3 separate regions of the Homo sapiens genome follow, and all the other regions are linked to region 3. The links are contacts of gene promoters, found by promoter capture Hi-C in blood cells and fetal thymus (Javierre and others, 2016). All regions are on one chromosome and are shown on one strand. Each heading gives the region's core, a stretch centred on a gene start or on the middle of the fragment in contact. The rest is flanking DNA. Distances are from core to core; before and after follow the strand shown. Region 1 has its middle 18 kb from the start of LINC01180. Region 2 overlaps UBTF (upstream binding transcription factor). Region 3 holds the start of ITGA2B (integrin subunit alpha 2b).

The links. The method cuts DNA at HindIII sites, captures the fragments that hold promoters and counts their contacts. A CHiCAGO score of 5 or more calls a contact.
Region 1: a contact is called between a fragment that was not itself captured here and the fragment with the promoter of ITGA2B in region 3, in 3 of 17 cell types (endothelial precursors, M2 macrophages and M1 macrophages). The highest score is 6.9, in endothelial precursors.
Region 2: a fragment that was not itself captured here is called in contact with the fragment with the promoter of ITGA2B in region 3 in 3 of 17 cell types (megakaryocytes, erythroblasts and M1 macrophages); the score reaches 7.0 in megakaryocytes.

Annotation. Positions count from the first base shown.
Region 1 is chr17:44,630,063-44,634,009 of GRCh38, reverse strand. No RefSeq gene overlaps it. Among named protein-coding and RNA genes, the nearest start is that of LINC01180, 18 kb to the left of the region's middle. The HindIII fragment of the contact is 850 bases long and covers 1,015-1,864 here.
Region 2 is chr17:44,203,935-44,207,648 of GRCh38, reverse strand. UBTF (upstream binding transcription factor) reads left to right here. Exons shown (of 21, transcript NM_014233.4): 20 at 52-195; 21 at 282-2,609. The coding sequence ends at 407. The region is part of intron 1 of ATXN7L3-AS1 (ATXN7L3 antisense RNA 1); the gene reads right to left. Among named protein-coding and RNA genes, the nearest start is that of MIR6782, 2.0 kb to the left of the region's middle. RefSeq lists an enhancer at 186-686. The HindIII fragment of the contact is 1,724 bases long and covers 1,523-3,246 here.
Region 3 is chr17:44,388,185-44,392,160 of GRCh38, reverse strand. It overlaps ITGA2B (integrin subunit alpha 2b), which reads left to right and starts at 2,512. Exons shown (of 30, transcript NM_000419.5): 1 at 2,512-2,875. The coding sequence starts at 2,688. RefSeq lists an enhancer at 2,296-2,355. The HindIII fragment of the contact is 14,706 bases long and covers 2,065-3,976 here.

The sequences.
Region 1 (3,947 bases), core at 190-2,689, 240 kb before region 3:
ATTTAAATCTGCCTCTGGACTCCATTCTTTCCTTTCCTATTTCTGTACCAATCTCATATTGCTTTAATTTGCATAGGTTAAAAAAATTTCTAATATCTGGTAGGGGTACTCCTTTAAAAATTGTTTGTTTGTTTGAGACAGGCTCTCACTCTGTCACCCAAGCTGGAGTGCAGTGGCGTGATTTCGGCTCACCGCAACCTCCATCTCCCAGGTTCAAGCGATTCTTCTGCCTCAGCCTCCCGAGTAACGGGGATTACAGACGCACGTCACCACGCCCAGCTAACTTTTCTATTTTTTGGTAGAGACAGTGTTTCGCCATGTTGGCCAGGCTGGTCTCGAACTCCTGACCTCAAGTGATCTGCCCACTTTGGCCTCCCAAAGGGCTGGGATTACAGGCGTAAGCCACTGTGCCAAGCCAAATAGCTTTTTTAAAATTTTATTTTTACTTCTTTTTTTTTGAGACCAAGTCTCTTTCTGTCGCCTAGGCAGGAGTGTAGTGGCGCCATCTCAGCTCACTGCAACCTGTGCCTCCTGGGTTCAAGCTATTCTCCTGTCTCAGCCTTCAAAGTAGCTGGGACTACAGGCATGCGCCACCACACCCAACTAATTTCTATATTTTTAGTAGAGACAGGGTTTCGCCATGTTGGCCAGGCTGGTCTCAAATTCTTGGCCTCATGTGATCCGCCCACCTCAGCCTCCCAAAGTGATGGGATTACAGGTGTGAGCCACCACACCTGGCCTATTTCTAAATTTCTATGAATTTTTAAATTGAGGTGAAATTGTAGCATAAAGTTAACCATTTTAAAGTGAACAATTCAGTGATATTTAGCACATTCACAATGTCATGTAACCATCACCTCCATCTAGTTCCAAAACATTTCATCGCCCCAAAACAAAACTCTATATTCATTAGGCAGTTTTTCCCATTTCACCCTCTCCACACATTTTTAACACATAAAAAATAAACTTGTTATAAAATCCCAAGCTTCAGGTTTACCAGGTATTAAGGAAGCTTAAAAATCAAGTCCCAGTTCAGAATCATACAGGTTTTCCAGATTTAGATCGTCCTCCGGCAGGGTGTCTGCATCCTCCAAGCATGATTCTACATCCCCAGTAGCCCAAGACTCAATTTGGATTCTGAAAATTTGCTGCTAAATTGCTTTGTGATTCTTCTCAAGTGTCTATGACTTCTGTTGTCTCTTGAACAACCTTGTTTTTGTTGTTGTTAATGTTTTTTGTTTGTTTTTGAGACAGGGTATCTCTCTGTCACCCAGGCTGGAGTGCAATGGTGCAATCGAGGCTCACTGCAGCCTCCACCTCCCGGGCTCAATCAATCCTCCTGCCTTAACCTCCCAAGCAGCTGGGACTACAGGTGCATGCCACCATGCCTAGCTAATTTTTTATTTTTATTTTTAGTAGAGATGAGGTCTCACTATGTTGCCCAGGCTGGTCTCAAACTCCTGGACTCAAGCAATCCTTCTGCCTCAGCCTCCCAAAGTGCTGGGATTACAGGTGTGAGACACTGTGTCTAGCCTTGAACAATCTTGCAAACCCTCTACTTTTTTTTCTTTTCCCCTGCCCACCCATCCATAGCATCTGGCACTGGCTTTGTACCATCACATGCCCATCAAATTATTGTTGATTGATTTCTTTCAAAATTTCCATATTAGACCCTCATCAGCGTGTCAGGAGACTGTCTGGGGCATGATTTAAGTGGGAGTTGAATTAAGAAATTTCAACACACTGTATCTTACTTTCAGATAATATGACACTACTGGTTGCCATTTATTTAAGTGCCTATTAATTGTCATACCCTACAAATGGTTTTATTTAATTCTTATAACAATCTCATGCAGCGGAAGCTTACTGATGATATTCACAGAGGTTAAGTGACTTGCCTAAAGTCCCTGGGCTTAATTGTCAGAGCCAAGCTTTGAACCCAGTTTTGTCTGACTACACAGCACTTTCTAACATGCTATATTGCCTCCATATACTTTCTCCATCAAAGCCCACCCATCATGTTATCCAGGTTTGTTTTTACTTCATTGTCATAGTCATGTTTGCCTAGAGGGAGCATCCAAGCCCTCCTGCTGAGGTATATGATGGAGATACTCAAGAAGCACCACAGAATCATTGCTTCTCTCACAGGTGACCTTACTTCCTGCCCTGGCCAAGCTATCAAGGATCAAGTTAATTCCTCGCTTTACTATGTTCTAGATAGTAAACCACGTTGGGCTGGCACGGTGGCTCATGCCTGTAATCCCAGCACTTTGAGAGGCCACGTAGGGAGCATCCCTTGAGTCCAGGAGTTCAAGACCAGCTTGGGCAACATAGGGAGACCCTGTCTCTACAAAAAATAACAAAAAATTAGCTGGGCGTTAGGCATGCATCTGTGGTCCTAGCTACTCGAGAGGCTGAGGTGGGAGGATCACTTAAGCCCAGTTACTTGAGCCAGGGAAGTCGAGGCTGCAGTGAGCTGGGATTGCCCCACTGCAGTCTGGCCTAGGCAACAGAGGAGACCCCGTCACCAAAAAAAAAAAAAAAAAAAAAAAAAAGTGTGCCGGATGGAGTCCCATACTGTCTGGCCCACGTGTTATAACTGTCACCTTAGCTAGAGCTGGAGCAAGAATATGGAATTGAATCCAGGCTCAGCCTCCACTGTAAGGATGGGAGACATTATTTTCCTAAGGAAGAGAATCCCAGTGAGTGCCTGGGAGCTCCATCTCTTCCCAATCTGCCCATACTTGGCCTCTTCCTATTTCCTGTCTTCTAAAAATGTATGAAATTCAGGGATGTTAGAGAGTGCTATTTGGAGAAATTAAGTTTAAATGAATCAGAAACACATGGATTGGCTTTCCCTCAGAAGAGACTCACATTTTAAAACGGAAAGGAAAATATATGGGACGAAGACCAGATGGGATTTTAAGTATGGAAGAAGGGTTGGATTGTTTCAGCAAATCCTAATCAGTTGGGCACACCCAGCTCTAGCTCCCCTTCACAGCTGCAAAGACAGGTCACCTCTGGGATGGTATGGTCCTGGATGTGTGTTCTCAGAGGACAGAGGCCCTGGATGTGGAATTAGAGGGCATGAGTTCATGATGAAGCAATGTCACTTAGCAGCTCTTATGGCCTTGCCACTGGACATTTGGCCCTTGTAGGGCGTGGTGGCTCACGCTTGTAATTCAGCACTTTGTGGGGATGAAGTGGTCAGATTGCTTGAGCTCAGGAGTTTGAGACCAGCCTAGGCAACATGGCGAGCCCCCTTCTTTACAAAAAATACAAAAATTAACGGGGTGTGGTGGTGTGCACCTGCAGTCCCAGCTACTCACTCAGGAGGCTGAGGTGGGAGGATGGCTTGAGCCTGGGGGGCAGAGGTTGCAGTGAGCTGAGATCGCACCACTGCACTCCAGCCTGGGCAACATAACAAGACCCTGTCTCAAAAAAAATTTTTTTTTCTTATCTGCTTTAAAAAAGGGGGAGGAATTTATAACATCTTTACTACCTACTTGTATGGCTTTTGTGACATCATGGTTCCAGTTTGCCAAAAACTATTAAACCATTATTGTAATTTAGCTGCATAATAAAGACTTTGAGGAGGGTAATAAGTGATGAAAATGACCACATTAGGGCAAATAGGTTGACAATTTATAAAATGGCTTTAAGACTTTTCCTTCAAGGGGATGTTAGTGTAAGCACTAACATCAGTAACTGGTTTTTGTTAGGTGATCCTTATCAGCCCAGCCTCCTAGGTCACAGTCATTCAGTCAATAGCGTCACTTTTAGATGACTTGCATGCAGGAACCCAGCCCCTGGTGCTACATATGAGTATGTTTGGGAGTGGGGTAGTGGTGGGGATATGGAGCACTGGGACGATGAGCAAGAAAACTAAATGCTAGAAGGATGCTTAGAAATAATTATGTCCAGTTTCCTCCTTCTCCAAGATTAGA
Region 2 (3,714 bases), core at 1,135-3,634, 180 kb after region 3:
GAATGGTTGGGCAGAGACCAGAGACCACTGATGTGCCTCCATCCCTCCAAGGAGTCCGAGGAGGATGATGAAGAGGATGAGGATGACGAGGACGAGGATGAAGAAGAGGAAGATGATGAGAATGGGGACTCCTCTGAAGATGGCGGCGACTCCTCTGAGTCCAGCAGCGAGGACGAGAGCGAGGATGGGGATGAGGTGGGGCAGACAGGGCACAGTGGGAGGGGAGGGGAGTCCTGCCAGGAGGGCCACCTGGTGACTCCACATCCTTTCTCACCCCCCAGAATGAAGAGGATGACGAGGACGAAGACGACGACGAGGATGACGATGAGGATGAAGATAATGAGTCCGAGGGCAGCAGCTCCAGCTCCTCCTCCTCAGGGGACTCCTCAGACTCTGACTCCAACTGAGGCTCAGCCCCACCCCAGGGCAGCCAGGGAGAGCCCAGGAGCTCCCCTCCCCAACTGACCACCTTTGTTTCTCCCCCATGTTCTGTCCCTTGCCCCCCTGGCCTCCCCCACTTTCTTTCTTTCTTTAAAAAAAAAAAAAAATACGGTGGGGGTAGGGGGCTGGAGGAGCCCAGGCCAGGACTCTGCAGCCTCAGAGACATCAGCCCTTGGGGGTCCTCCTCCAGGGACAGCAACTATCAGACTAAGCCAGCACCGGACCAGCCTGGCCCACCCCACCCACTTCTGCACTTGCGGTTCCGGCATGGACAATGGACCGGAGAGTGGGGGTGGGGGGTCCCAAAGAGTTTGATGAGGCCCTCCACACCTGCGGCCCAATCCAAGGTGGGGTGGAAGCTTGGGGAAGACCCATTCCTTCCCAGAGGGGCCTGCCACCTGGACCCCTGCATTGGAACTGGAGGCAGGGAACATGGGGAGGAGGAGGGTCGGTGCCTTCAAGAAAACAGGCACTGCCCTGGTGGCCCTCTCCCCTGCCCCCTGCAGGAAGGAGCTGCCTGGACCCGTTCATGGGGGAGGGGGCAGAAGTGTTTTTTATATATGTGTATATATTTTTTTTTAAGCTCTGAGCTGTCAACGAGACGTTTCCTACCGATCTCGGCTGCCGTCTCTGTTGTCATTTCTGGGAGAGGGAGGGTTTAGGGGTAGATTTGGAACCTTTTAAAAATGGTCTTGATGTATGTGGAAGAGAGTATGTGTATGTGTGTTCCTGTACATAGCATGGGTGCAGCTGTGGATGTGTGCAAAAGAGTGTGAGTGTGTGTGTGTGTGTGTAAAGGGGTCTGTCCTAGAGCCCACATCAGTTTGTTGTGAATCTGGAAAAAGGGTCGGTGAGGGCCGGGAGATGTTGACCCTGGTGGGAGCAGGCTGAGGCTGCCCCGTTCTCCACATCCTCTGTTTTGCCCAGTCTCTGATTCCATTAGGGGGAGTGTGCTGAAGCCATTCTCGGATGCTTCCCAGACCAGGCTCCCTCTGCCAGAGTCACATGCATCCGAGCTGCTGGTCTCCATTGTCCAGCAGGAAGGCGGAAAGGCAGGCAAGATGGTGTGAAGCTTAAAGCTTGTATTTGATGGAAAAGGTCTCCCCTGTTCATCTGAGAGGCCAAGCCTGGCCACCCCAGGCTCAGAACCTGGGCTTCAAGAAATGTGCTGGGAGCTCCTAACTTACACATCCCTCCAGCCTTCCTTGAATCCTCCCACCACCCCCTATTTCCTTTAATTTCTCAGGTCTGCTCCCTCCTCCCCCAACCCCACAGCTGGGCAAGAAGTCTGCAAAAGCTGCATCTGCAGCTGTCTCTAACTCTTCCCAGCCATCTCCCGTATTTTTTGGTACCTTGATTCCTTGACTCTTAATAAGCCAAGCCACCTTATCTCTGTAGTTCTTATTTTTTTGTTGACTAAATTTGGGGGGTTCTTTTTTATGGTCATGTCACTGACCTATTAAATTGGGGCTTGGTGCTTTTCCACCTTCCCCCTCTGAATGAAAGCCAAGGAATGGGGGAAGAGCGGGAACTCTGCCGCGGAGGTGGAGCAAGAACGGTGAAGGGCCCTGGTCCCAGAGAGGCTGGTGGGTCCCTCTCCCAAAGGAAGGCAGACAGTCTCTGCTTTGCCTTGGACCTTGGTGCTGGGGGTGGGGAGGCCTGGGGGGGACACTCCCCACTCCCATTCCCCTTCCTTTGTCCTAATCCTGGAATTAAGTACAGGGGTTTATAGGTTCTATTTCTTCCCAAGAGCCCTGCAAAGAACCCCAGTTTCCTATTTGGATGCCCCTACACTGTTGTGTTTCAGTGGAATGTATTTTCATTTAAAAACAACTTTGAATGGGGCACTTTTTCTTTCCTGTTTTAAAAATTGAAAAATTCTTACAGTACAAACAGGACTGTCAGGGTGGGGGTGTTGGTGCTGTAAGAGGTCACTCTTGAGTGCATTTTGGCACTGGGATGGGATGGCTGGGGTGGGAAGACCCCCATCCCCACCCCCAACTTCTTTTCTAATATTTAAGGAGTGTTTTGTAGGATTCAACAACCACCACAACTTGAATTTGTATCATGGGAGGTGGGAGGGAGTGGCTTAGAGGTGTCTGCCTATGCTTAAAGCCAACTGTGGAAGTTTTGTTTTCCCTTTTTTGTATAATAAAGTGAAAAACAAAGGTTTGACTGCTGTCTGGTCACTGGAATCAATGAAGGTTCACAGGGGTGACCCAACAGGTTTGATCTATAAAAATGCTTGAAGCCAATTTGCCTTTTCTTCCTAGAACTATCTTCCTCTTCCCTAAAGATTCCATAGGCAACCTACCTTCACATTGTTCTGTGCTACTGTTCTTGCCCTTTTCTCAATTCCATTTGTTCACCTTGGGTTGTGAGACCACTAAAGATTCTGAGAAGTTGGAGAACAAATGCATTTTCACCCAAAGTACATGGTCTTGGGGAATTGGAGGTGATGAGCTACTAGGGTCAAGGGTTCGCCCTGGGCATGCAAGCCTTCCTAGTGTAGGGCTTATCGTGGGGAGTTGAGGGAGCACGCTCTCACTTTGAGCCTTCAGCTCCATCCCAGGTTAAAGGTTAAGGGTTAAGGATGACTTTCCTAGGACCATCTAGGCCTCTGATGGGAAGCAGGCTGGGCTGGGCTGAGATGACTCACTCTCTGAGATTAAGGGAAGACACCCTTTCCTGCGCAGGCCTTGGCTGGGTTCCTGGAACCTCAAAGGGCTGCAGACCCAGGTCCTGTCGGAGAACTCTCTCCCAGCCCTTGCCCCTATCCTATAGTGGCCAAACTGCTAAAAAGCTTGTTGTGCCTCTTGGCCTCCCACTTACCACCATCCTTTGAGGTTCCTTGCTAAGGTCACCAACATGTTCATTACATCTGGTGAACACTTGTCTTGTCTTTTGCCTTCTTGGTCTACTCTGTTGGTGTCAGCTCTTCCTCATTTTATCCCAGGTGTTCATGTCTCTCCCTTCAACCTCCCATTATCACGCATATGCAACCATTCCGAAAGGTGGTGCCGACAGAGACTGCTCTTCCAAGCTGCAGACCTGTGTAGACACCCTTGCATCCCCTGGGATATCTTGCAGACATCTCATACCTCAAGACCCGAAATGATTACCAAACACTTAGTCGTTCAACCTAGAAAGCAGAGTATTGGCCTTGACTCCTCTCTCCCTTTCACCTCGAGGTTCAATCACCTAGACCTCTCCATTCCACTTCCTAAAGCTGTCTCAAATCTGTCGACCCCTCCCACAGGGTGGCTCCCACAG
Region 3 (3,976 bases), core at 1,263-3,762:
GAGCCACCAAACCTGGTGTAAAAAATCTTTATAATTTTATTTTTCTTTTCTTTCTTTCTTTTTTTCTTTTTTGATGGAGTCTCACTCTGTCGCCCAGGCTGGAGTGCAGTGGCATGATCTTAGCTCACTGCCACCTCCGCCTCACAGGTTCAAGCAATTCTTTTGCCTCAGCCTCCCAAGTAGCTGGGATTACAGACACACACCACCACGCCCAGCTAATTTTTGTATTTTTAGTAGAGACGGGGTTTCACTAGGTTGGCCAGGCTGGTCTCAAACTCCTGACCTTGTGGTCCACTCGCCTGGGCCTCCCAAAGTGCTGGGATTACAGGCATGAGCCACCATGCCCGGCTAAAATCTTTATGATTTTCCATCCCCCATGGATTAAAGTTCAGATTCCTTAATATGGCATTCAAGGACCTCCAGTAATTTGAATCCCCAAGCTTTACCCCCTTGCGCCTCAGTCCAACCCTTTAAGCATTCTGCTATGCTGAGTCAACTACTTGTCCTTCCCTACCTCTGTGTTCCTTTGCTGCTCTCATGTATTCTCTATGCCTAAAAACCCTTTCATTCTCTGACAAAAGGCAACTTGAACATGAGTTCAAGTGCAACCCATGTTTGAATCTTAGTTTTGCCATCTGTTGGCTGCGTAAACATGGGCAATTTACCTAAAACTCTTGTGCCACAGTTTTGTGTTTATAAAATGGGCATAATAGTACTTATTTCCTAGGGTTGTTATGAGTAACAATGATATACGACTTTGATAATCTGTGTATTTTTCAAGGCATGCTTGACTGTCTCTCTGCTGCAGTTATGTGTGTTCATGTCTTAACTCTTTCTGGGCTGTTTGTTAAGTCTCCTTGATGGCTATCTTTGGAGTTTTTAAAATATTTTATTTTTTATAATTTTAAAATAGAGACGAGGTCTCACTGTATTGCCTAGGCTGGTCTTAAATGCCTGAGCTCAAGCCATCCTCCTGCCTCAGCCTCCCAAAGTGCTGGGATTACAGGCATGAGCCACTATACCTGGCCTAATGGTTATCTTTGTATCCTTTATCAACACAGTGCCTTGAACAGAGTAAATACTTATTGAAAACTTGAGTGAAATGTAAGTTCATATTTGGCCTCACAGAATACACCAGTAATACAGCAATCACTCACCTGAGGACAGTGGGAGGATAGAAGGTAAGTAGAGGACTGGGTTAAGTATTCGTTCAAGCAAATACATTAATTACACGCCTCCCATGTACTTGACACTGGGAACTCAGCAATGAAGAAGGCCCAGACCAAAGTTCAGGCTTTTAGCTTCCTGTCCTATAAAGGATAAGATTCTTAACTCTAGGCTGAGGTAGTAAATTACGAGGGGACTTCAAAATGGTACAGGGTGGTTGAGCAGGATACGGCAATGGTTAAGTTTGATCAGAAAATAGAAATCAAAAGGAAAATGTGGCTATGGTTACCCCTAGCGGACCTCTTAAATCTTCCTGAGAACCTGCTTTTTTGGGAAGGCATGAGTGCCAGTAAGACTTGGCACTCCTCCTCTTCCGCTTACCGAGAGAAAATGACTTTGCCTTTCTGCTCAAAACTCATCCCTTCACTTTGTCACCCTATGTTTGCATCTTCCATCCTTAGTGTGTGTTTCCATCCAGTCTTTCAGCAATACACGTACTACACATTGGACTCTTGGGTAGTCTCTAGGGCTGTAGCAAGGAGCCTTGCTCCCAAGGGACTCATTTACACAATCCTGTGAACGGACCAAGAGTAAACAGTGTGCTCAATGCTGTGCCTACGTGTGTTAGCCCACGCGGCCAGCCTGAGGAGTCAGGGAAGGCTCCCCTAGGCAAAGCCCCCAACCAGAATCAAGTCTTAATGGTTAAAGAGCTCCATCACCCAAAAAGGATTGAGGGCCTACCTTCAACTGAACAGCTAATGCATAATCTCAGAAACTGTGAGTCAAAATTCCCTGGAATAACTCCACTTTATCCCCAATCTCCTTGCCACCTAGACCAAGGTCCATTCACCACCCTGTCCCCAGCACTGACTGCACTGCTGTGGCCACACTAAAGCTTGGCTCAAGACGGAGGAGGAGTGAGGAAGCTGCTGCACCAATATGGCTGGTTGAGGCCGCCCAAGGTCCTAGAAGGAGGAAGTGGGTAAATGCCATATCCAAAAAGATACAGAAGCCTCAGGTTTTATCGGGGGCAGCAGCTTCCTTCTCCTTCCCCGACCTGTGGCCAAGTCACAAAGCACCACAGCTGTACAGCCAGATGGGGGAAGGGAGGAGATTAGAACTGTAGGCTAGAGTAGACAAGTATGGACCAGTTCACAATCACGCTATCCCAAGCAGAAAGTGATGGTGGCTTGGACTAGCACGGTGGTAGTAGAGATGGGGTAAAGATTCAAGAGACATCATTGATAGGCAGAACCAATAGGACATGGTAATAAACTATTCTCAGGAAAGGGGAGGAGTCATGGCTTTCAGCCATGAGCATCCACCCTCTGGGTGGCCTCACCCACTTCCTGGCAATTCTAGCCACCATGAGTCCAGGGGCTATAGCCCTTTGCTCTGCCCGTTGCTCAGCAAGTTACTTGGGGTTCCAGTTTGATAAGAAAAGACTTCCTGTGGAGGAATCTGAAGGGAAGGAGGAGGAGCTGGCCCATTCCTGCCTGGGAGGTTGTGGAAGAAGGAAGATGGCCAGAGCTTTGTGTCCACTGCAAGCCCTCTGGCTTCTGGAGTGGGTGCTGCTGCTCTTGGGACCTTGTGCTGCCCCTCCAGCCTGGGCCTTGAACCTGGACCCAGTGCAGCTCACCTTCTATGCAGGCCCCAATGGCAGCCAGTTTGGATTTTCACTGGACTTCCACAAGGACAGCCATGGGAGGTGAGCCGTAAGGGAAGTTGGGGTATTGGGAGAGAGCAGGACCCCTCCCCATCACTGCTTCTGGGGGCTTCGAGTTTCCCATTTGCGATAGCAGTTGAGCAAGGTGACTTGTGGGGCCTATTCAGGTTGATTTCTTGTCAAGAATGTTGGGGTCCAGGGGACTGGCTCAGGTGAAGGTATAAGGGCAGGGCACATGTGGGCTGATGGGCACTGAAAACTACAGCAAGAACAAAGGGAAGACAAGAGTTGATGCTTTATTTTTTCCCCAAGGGTCAGTTGTATGAACCACTCCACCCTCAACACCTTGAAATGCAGAGAGGAGGCCGGGCGCGGTGGCTCATGCCTGTAATCCCAGCACTTTGGGAGGCCGAGGCGGGCAGATCACCTGAGGTCGAGAATTCGAGACCAGCCTGACCAACATGGAGAAACCCCGTCTCTACTAAAAATACAAAAAAAAAAAAAAAAAAGAGACCAGGCACAGTGGCTCACACCTGCAATCCCAGCACTTTGGGAGGCAGAGGTGGGCAGATCATGAGGTCAGGAGTTCAAGACCAGCCTGGCCAATATGGTGAAACCCTGTCTCTATTAAAAATACAAAAATTAGCTGAGCGTGGTGGCACACTCCTGTAGTCCCAGCTACTCGGGAGGCTGAGGTAGGAGAATCACTTGAACCCGGGAGGTGGAGGTTGCAGTGAGCTGAGATCATGCCACTGCACTCCAGCCTGGGTGACAGAGTGACACTCCGTCTCAAAAAAAAAAAAATTAGCCGGGCGTGGTGCCGCATGCTTGTAATCCCAGCTACTCGGGAGGCTGAGGCAGGAGAATCGTTTGAACCTGAGAGGCAGAGGTTGTGGTGAGCCGAGATCATGCCATTGCACTCCAGCCTGGGCAACGAGAGCGAAACTCTGTCTCAAAAAAAAAAAAAAAAAAAAAAGAAAGGAAATGTGGAGAGGAGCACATGTCCTAAATTGATTTGCAGAACTAAAGTTGTCTACCCTCCCGCACCTTGCATTTCTGTTCCATTTCCCTCATCTCCATCAACATTATAAATATTTGAAAAGAAGCAATAGGTCATTAATGATTAGTATTGATCAGGCTTCA